Regions from separate parts of the Homo sapiens genome. Here all the other regions are linked to region 3. Evidence: promoter capture Hi-C in human tissues and cell types (Jung and others, 2019). All regions are on one chromosome and are shown on one strand. Each heading gives the region's core, a stretch centred on a gene start or on the middle of the fragment in contact. The rest is flanking DNA. Distances are from core to core; before and after follow the strand shown.

Region 1 (2,715 bases), core at 63-2,562, 120 kb after region 3:
TTTACCACAATAAAAACTAAATTTAAAAATCTTAAAAATGGTTCTGAAACAACTGGACATGCTCCCCCCAAAAAAATATGAACAGCTACCTTTTCTTGATACCAAAAACAAAAATTAACTTGAAATTAATGACAGGCCTAAATGTAAATGCTAAAACTACACAGCCTGGGCAACATGGTGAGACCCCCATCTCTTTTTTTTTGAGACGAATTCTCGCTCTGTAGCCCAGGCTGGAGCGCAGTGGCGTGATCTCGGCTCACTGCAACCTCTGCCTCCTGGGTTCAAGTAATCCTCCTGCTGTAACGCAGGCGTGCGCCAACGTGCCCACCTAATTTTTGTATTTTTAGTGGAGACGGGATTTTGCCATGTTAGCCAGGCTGGTCTCCAACTCCTGACCGCAGGTGATCCATGCGCCTTGGCCTCCCAGGAATTACAGGTATGAGCCACCACGCCTGGCCCCCCATCTCTTAAAAAAAAGAAATAAAATAAAACTATAAAACACAGGAAAATATTTTTGTGATCTTGTGGTAGGCAAAGATTTTTTAGAGTGAACCCAAAGAATATGAGAACGATTAAACAAAAAAGATAAATTGAATTCTATAATAATGCAAGACTTTTGTTCTTTGAAAGAGGCTATTACAAAAATGAAACGGCAAGCCAAGAAATTAGAGAACTTTTGCAATACATATATCTTATAAAAACTTGTATCCAGGGCCAGGCGCGGTGGCTCACGCCTGTAATCCCAGCACTTTGGGAGGCCGAGGCGGGCGGATCACGAGGTCAGGAGATCACGACCATCCTGGCTAACACGGCGAAACCCCATCTCTACTAAAAATACAAAAAAATTATCTGGGTGTGGTGGTGGGCCACTGTAGTCCCAACTACTCGGGAGGCTGAGGCAGGAGAATGGCGGGAACTCGTGAGGTGGAGCTTGCAGTGACCTGAGGTCGCGCCACTGCACTCCAGCCCGGGCGACAGGGGGAGACTCCGTCTCAAAACAACAACAACAACAAAAAACTTGTATCCAGATTATATAAGGAGCTCCTAAATTTTAATAACTCAAACCACTCAGTTTTTAAAAATGGCAATAGACTAGAACAGACACTTCACGAAAGAAGCTATGTGAATGGCCAATAAGCCATTCCCCAGCAGCCCGGACGTCCTTCTTGTGGTATGGCCGACTCTCTGGCTTTTGTTGGCTTCTTCATCTCTGATCCCATCTGCGTCATTCCAGTCATAACCCATTTGATGGTTCTAACATGAGGATGGATTTATTATTTAAAAATATACATAGTTCTAGGGCCAGGTGTGGTGACTCATGCCTGTAATCCCAGCAATTTGGGAGGCCGAGGTGGGTGGATCACTTGAGGCCAGGAGTTCGAGACCAGCCTGGCCAATATGGTGAAACCCCATCTCTACTAAAACTACAAAAATTAGCCAGGCATGGTGGTGCATACCTATAGTCCCAGCTACTAGGGAGGCTGAAGTATGATAATTGCTTGAACCTGGGAGGCAGAGGTGGCAGTGAGCCGAGATTGTGCCATTGCACTCCAGCCTGGGCGACAGAATGAAACTCTGTATCAAAAAAAAAAAAAATATATATATATATATATAAAATTTTTAAATCTTTAATTTTATAAGACTAGTCAAGCGCAGCACTGATAAGGGGAAATCAGTAGAACAGGGAATTCATTCTTTTTGTCTCTCCTGTGCTGTACCCTTAAACACGGTTATGATGGTGAACTGCATGTTATGTGCTTTTCACTACAATAAAAATAGGTACATAGATCTTAAATTGTCAGTGGCCTTTGAGAGAGTGGAGAGGTAAACACAGGCAAAACACATCGTCTTGAATGAAAAGATACTCGGAACCCTAAATGTGAAATTAACTAGACAAATATTTCTCACTTTTAATTTCACGTTTTTTTTTCCTTTGAGACAGGGTCTCGCTCTGTCTCCCAGGCTGGAGTGCAGTGGTGTGATCTCGGCTCACTGCAGCCTTGACCACCCAGGCTCAGGCGATCCTCCTGCCTCAGCCTCCCAAGTAGCCGGGACCACAGGCACGCGCCACCACGTCTGGCAAATGTCCGTAATTTTGTAGAGACGGGGCCTCACTTTGTTGCTCAGGTTGTTCTTAAACTTCTGAGCTCAAGTGATCTGCTCACCTTGGCTTCCCAAAGTGCTGGGATTACAGGTGTGAACCACCTTGGCCGGCTAATTCCACATTTCAATGTTAAAACAGTATTTTAAATTTAACACTCTTTCTAAGAATATACAACAAAGATCAGCCATCCCTTTACGCTGCTGTTTTGCTGCTAGATATGGAGAACACACTCATCAGAATACACTCCAAAATCTGAACTAGCTTTGATGATGATAAAATTTAGAGTGTTTACCAGGTACTAGGCATGTGCTAAGCATTTTACACACACGTACCTCATCTAGTCCACACAATGGCCCAGGAGGCTGAGAACTGACCTGTGAGCCTCTGAAGGCAGACACCTTGCATCTCAACCAGGCCTGCCATCTGGCCAGAATGAATGAGGAAATGAAACAGTTTGTACTATAGTCCCCAGCTTAGCTGAGCACACACGGAGACATAGGAAGGCTAGGAAGCTTTCCTAGGCCACCTGGGTATTTGGTGGCTGAGCTGGGCATTTGCTCCAAGTCCAGCTCTTGAACTTCTCTGGGAAATGTATTGTTCCTTGAAACCAA
Region 2 (2,700 bases), core at 134-2,633, 120 kb before region 3:
GGAAGGTCCGTCCGCGTGTGGAAGGTCCGTCCGCGTGTGGAAGGTCCGTCAGTGTGTGGAAGGTCCGTCCGCGTGTGGAAGGTCCGTCCGCGTGTGGAACGTCTGTCAGCGTGTGGAAGGTCCGTCCGCGTGTGGAACGTCTGTCAGCGTGTGGAAGGTCTGTCCGCGTGTGGAACGTCTGTCAGCGTGTATGAGTTCTGGGCACTGCTTTGGCTGTGAGATCCCAGTCTGCATCAGGGAAGCAATTACAAAAGAGACCTACTTTCCTTTTCCCTCTTCTTCTTTTTTTTTTTTTTTTTTTTTTTGAGATGGAGTCTCTCTCTGTCGCCAGGCTGGAGTGCAGTGGCGGGACCTTGGCTCACTGCAATCTCCGACTCCCTGGTTCAAGCGATTTTCCTGCCTCAGCCTCCCGAGTAGCTGAGATTACAGGCATGCGCCACCATGCCCAGCTAATTTTTTTTTGTATTTTTAGTAGAGACGGGGTTTCACCGTGTTGGCCAGGATGGTCTCAAACTCCTGACCTCGTGATCCACCCGCCTTGGCCTCCCAAAGTGCTGGGATTACAGGCTTGAGCCACTGCACCCAGCCCCTTTTCCTTCTTCAAAAGAATTCTGTCTTCCACTTTCTTCCTCTCTTTTATATTTACTGTGGTAAAATATCATAACATAAACTTGGCTGTTTTAACTATTTTAAGGTGTGTCACTCAGTGCATTCACAATCTTGTATAGCCATTACCATTATTCACATCTAGAAGTTTTTCATTTTCCCAAACAGAAACTCTCTCCGTTAAACACTAACTCCCCATTCATTCTCCCTCTCCACAGTCTCTGGCAACCACCATTGTCTTTGTCTCTGAATTTGACTATTCTAGGTACAGTTTATGAGTGGAATCATAAAGTATTATCTTTTTGTGACTGACTTATTTCACTTAGCACTATGTGCCCAAGGTTCATTCAGTATTGTACTGTATGTCCAAATTTCCTTCCTTTTTAAGGCTGAAAAATTACTGTGTGGGTGGGCCACATTCTGTCCATTCATCCATCCATCAGTGGAGACTTGGGTTGCTTCCAGCCTTGGCTATTGTGAATAACACTGCTGTATATGTGGGTGTACAAATACCTGTTTGAGTCCTTACTTTCAGTTCTTCTGAAAGTAAGAAGAAGTTCTTCTGGATAAATACCTATGAGGCCAGGTCATGTGACAATTCCATGATTAAGTTTTGAGGCCAGACCTTTCCACAGTGGCTGCACCATTTTATCTTCCTGTCAACAAAGTCTCCCCTTTCTCCTCATCCTCCCCCTCATCCCGCCGACACTTGTCTTCCTTCTTCTGATGCTCGTCATCTGATGTGCGTGTGGAACGGTGTCTCCGTGTGGCTGATGCTCGTCATCTGATGTGCGTGTGGAACAGTGTCTCCGTGTGACAAGTGATGTCGAGCATCTTCTCGTGCTTTTTGGCCATGTGAATAGCTTCGTTGGAGAAATGTCTATTCAAGTCCTTTGACCATTTTTGAATTGAGTTTTTTTTTTGTTTTTTTTTTTTAGTTTTAGAAGTTCTATATATATTCTGGATATTAATCCTTTATCAGATATATGCAAATATTTTCTTTGGGTTATCTTTTTACATAAAAAATTTTTTTTAGATGTAGGGTCTTGCAGTACAGTGATCATAGCTTCCTGTAACCTTGAACTCCTGGGCTCAAGTGATCCTCCCACCTCAGCCTCCTGAGTAGCTAAGACTGCAGGCATGCGCCACCACATCCAGCTAATTTTTATATTTTTTGTAGAGATGGGGTCTCGCTATGTTGATCAGGCTGGCCTTGAACTCCTGACTTCAAGTGATGCTCCGGCCGTGGCCTCCCAAAGTGCTGGAATTATAGGCGTGAGCCACCAGCCACCCAGCCTTTACTCCTTGATAATGACCTTTGACACACAAGTTTTAAATTTTGATGAAATCCAATTATCTTTTTTTCTCTGTTGCCTGTGCTTTCGGTGTCATATCCAAAAAAGTCATTGCCAAATCAGTATCATGAAGCTTTTCCTCTATGCTTCCTTCAAAAAGTTGTATGTTTTCTCTCTTATGTTTAGGTCTTTAATCCATTTTGAATTAATTTTTGTATCTGGTGTAAAGTAAGGGTCCAGCTTCATTCTTTTGCATGGGGTTATCCAGTTTTCCCAGCACTTGTTGAAAAGACTGTCCTAGGCCGGGCACGGTGGTTCACGCCTGTAAACCCAGTATTTTGGGAGGCCAAGGCAGGCAGATCACCTGAGGTCAGGAGTTTGTGACCAGCCTGGCCAATGTGGCGAAACCCCATGTCTACAAAAAATACAAAAATTAGCCAGGCATGGTGGCAGCGCCTGTAATCCCAGCTACTTGGGAGGCTGAGGCAGGAGAATCACTTGAACCTGGGAGGCGGAGGTTGCAGTGAGCCAAGATCACACCACTGCACTCCAGCCTGGGTGACAGAGCGAGATTCTGTTTCAAAAAAAAAAAAAAAAAACACCGTCCTTTCCCCCATGAATGGTCTCGGCCTAATTGTTAAAAACCAGCTGGCCGGCCGGGCGCAGTGGCTCATGCCTGTAATCCCAGCACTTTGGGAGGCTGAGGTGGGTGGATCATGAGGTCAGGAGATTGAGACCATCCTGGCCAACATAGTGAAACCCCGTCTCTGCTAAAAATATGAAAAAATTAGCTGGGTGT
Region 3 (2,700 bases), core at 143-2,642:
ACCACTTGGAGTTCCAGGGCAGTTGCACCCCGGGGGTGCGCTGCCGCCACCGCTTCCCGCCCCCTACTCAGTCTCTAATATTTATGGGTGTCATCTCCATCCTCTGAAGGTTTCTGGACCCCAAACTTAACCAAGAGGCAGAGCCTGAGACTGGGACAGAGAATAAGGGCACGGTCTAGAAAGCCTTCCCTCAACTTGAGGTCCACCTTAAGGCATGGGGCCCACCCTCACCCTCTCCCTGTCATCTAATAGTCCCAGGGGGAGCTGGGAGGTGAGTTACCTGAGGCTCAGTAGGGTTCAGGCTGGGTGCCAGGGACACTCCTAGGCCATCTCCTTGCTGCTTGAGTAAGGGAGAAATCCCCAGGCCTGCTGTGTCCCAGAGGAAGGAAAAATACACACGGTACTTTCCAGGGAGCCCTGCCTTTGTCCCAGGGACTCCAGGCTCTTTTTCTTGTCTGAGCCTCACCTGGCACCTGGCCCGAGACACTCCTGAGATGGGATTAAGCAAGGAGCAGGTGGAGGAGCCCAGGCTTCTCCCTCAGGAAGCAAGTGCTCACATCCAACAGAAGTACCTACATGCCGGCCTGAGCCAGGGCTAGGAGGTACCAGCCAGGATGTGGTCTCGAGGGCGAGTCCTCAGCTCAGATAAGGGAAGGCTGAGGACTGAGATGAAGACACCCAGAGTCTGGCTATTAGAGCACCTGGGGCCAGAGGGGGGTGGTTTCTAAGGGATCCAGGTGCTGGCTGATGCGGTAACTGGAGTAGGGGGCAGGCTGGGCTCAGGGTTCTCCAGGGGCACAGTGAGAGTCTCATCTGGGCAGTCAAGACACTCTCGATGGGCGCAGGGGGTCCAGGAGATCCTAGAAGGTCTAGGTGGGCTGAAATAAGCCTGGCCATAAAGAGAGAAATATGTTTGGATTTTATTTATCCCATTAATTTTTTTTTTCTCTTGACTTGATAACCCTATCCCATGTCTGGTAAACCCAGAGTAAGGAGTCCAAAAGCTGCTGGAGGAGGAGCTATGGGAGCCTCAGTCTCCTCTCTATGCCCCCTCCCTGTGCCCCAGTACAAACCTCCACAGCACCCCTGCAATGATAATGCTCACTGCCAGGACCCGTGTCCAGGGTCTCCCTCTTCAGCCTGAGAGACCACCGTCAGGCACAGCCTGCACCCTCCCGTGCACGGCCCCCACCCCTCCCCTGCTGGCCCACAGTGGAATCAGCCTCTCCGGTTTCTGGTGATTTCATCAGGGCCACATCACATTGCTAGAGCTAGAGATAACATCTCCCTGTGGGTAACCCTTCCCTGCCAAGCCCCCTGAAGCTGGGCCCAGGCTGAGAGGAGGGACTGTGGGGTGTGGAATAAATTTAGGGGTGTGAGGGTCTACCAGGCAGAAGCAGGTTGGCTGTGATGACAGCACAGAGCTCAGGAACGCTGCCTGAGGACCCTGGGGCCTACGAGGAGGAGAAGAGGGCAGGAGCTGGTGGGGTGCTTGCAGAGACCCTGGGCTCCTATCCTGCCATAAGCCTCGCTGTCTCCTGATATCTGCAGCCAGGCCCTACTGACACCCCCAGGCCTGAGTGCAAGCAGAGACCCCACCATTCCCAGGCCCTGGAGGACTGGTCCACCTTAACTGGGCAGCCCTTGGGGCAGGCGCTGGCCGGTGCCTCAGCCCAGGCCTCTGTGCTCTGCATGCACTGCCAGCCTGCCATCAGGCCTCTATTGCAGCCCTGAACCATGATCCAGGGCACCTTGGAGCCAGATGGTCCCCTCTGGGGCTGGGACTGGGACAGTGACAATGACTGGGATAGTGCTGTGCTGGCCCTCCTGGCGCTGGCTGTGGTGGCTGCCACAGCGCTGGCCTTACACTGGTTTGGCTCCGGGCACGATCAAGAGGCGGCAGAACCGGTGTCCACAGCCCTCGGGGCTCAACCTCATCAGGCAGGAGGAGCTGAGCTGGCCCTGCAACCGAAGTCTAAGGTCAGTGATGGCAGCGAGGGGCAGAGCCCAGGGCAGGGGAAACCAGAGCCCCCAGGACGCGGCCAGCAGAGCCCTGTCCCTGCTGCAGCGCCGGGCGGGGGCCTGGCCGCCATGGCCCGGCTTCCACTCAAGACGGCTGTCGAGGAGGCCCGCAGAGAGGCATTAGGACAGCAACGGGGCAGTGCCACCCCCGCGGCCCCCCGAGCGGAAGGAAAGGAGCCTCCCAGGCCAGGCACTGCCCTCCTGGGCAGGAGCGAAGCAGGGGGGATGTCCGCCCCCCTCCTGATCCACTTCACTCCTCGGAGCCCTGGCAGCGAAGCGGAGGCGGAGACAGGTGGTGTCAGGGCGTCCTCTCGCCAGGCCGCAGGCCCCGCGGGGCAACAGGACACTGGCCCCTGGCAGGCGGGCGCGGGGCCCTCGGGCTCGATGGGGAGAGGCCGGGGCCGGCGGCGGCGGATGGACGCTGGCTCGGGAGACAGAGCCCGCCGCCCCCGGAAACTGGACCCGCTCCGCCTGGGCGCCGCGGGGAGCGTGTGGGACGCGGTGGACGGGGCCGCCGCCCTGGACGCCCACGCGCGCGGCCTCCCCACAGGACCCCCACTCGCCCAGGAGCCCGCACTCCCGGCGCTGCCCGCTCCCCGCGCCCTGCAGCCTGGGTCTCAGACGGAAGGCTCTGGGGCCAAGGGTGGCTGGAGCAGGGAGGCCTCGGGGGTCCCTGCC

Evidence for each region. The method cuts DNA at HindIII sites, captures the fragments that hold promoters and counts their contacts. A contact is called where the count stands out against the background at its distance.
Region 1: a fragment that was not itself captured here is called in contact with the fragment with the promoter of KLHDC7B in region 3 in 3 of the 25 tissues and cell types used here (H1 embryonic stem cells, dorsolateral prefrontal cortex and lymphoblastoid cells).
Region 2: a contact is called between a fragment that was not itself captured here and the fragment with the promoter of KLHDC7B in region 3, in 2 of the 25 tissues and cell types used here (IMR-90 fibroblasts and dorsolateral prefrontal cortex).

What each region holds. Positions count from the first base shown.
Region 1 is chr22:50,663,403-50,666,117 of GRCh38, forward strand. No RefSeq gene overlaps it. Among named protein-coding and RNA genes, the nearest start is that of SHANK3, 8.1 kb to the right of the region's middle. The HindIII fragment of the contact is 5,475 bases long and covers 1-2,715 here.
Region 2 is chr22:50,424,352-50,427,051 of GRCh38, forward strand. All of the region lies in intron 10 of PPP6R2 (protein phosphatase 6 regulatory subunit 2), which reads left to right. Among named protein-coding and RNA genes, the nearest start is that of MIR12114, 18 kb to the left of the region's middle. The HindIII fragment of the contact is 3,827 bases long and covers 1-2,700 here.
Region 3 is chr22:50,544,507-50,547,206 of GRCh38, forward strand. It overlaps KLHDC7B (kelch domain containing 7B), which reads left to right and starts at 1,393. Exons shown (of 1, transcript NM_138433.5): 1 at 1,393-2,700. The coding sequence starts at 1,738. It overlaps KLHDC7B-DT (KLHDC7B divergent transcript), which reads right to left. Exons shown (of 4, transcript NR_199716.1): 2 at 1,868-1,962; 3 at 281-889. RefSeq lists a silencer at 1-8. The HindIII fragment of the contact is 12,740 bases long and covers 1,020-2,700 here.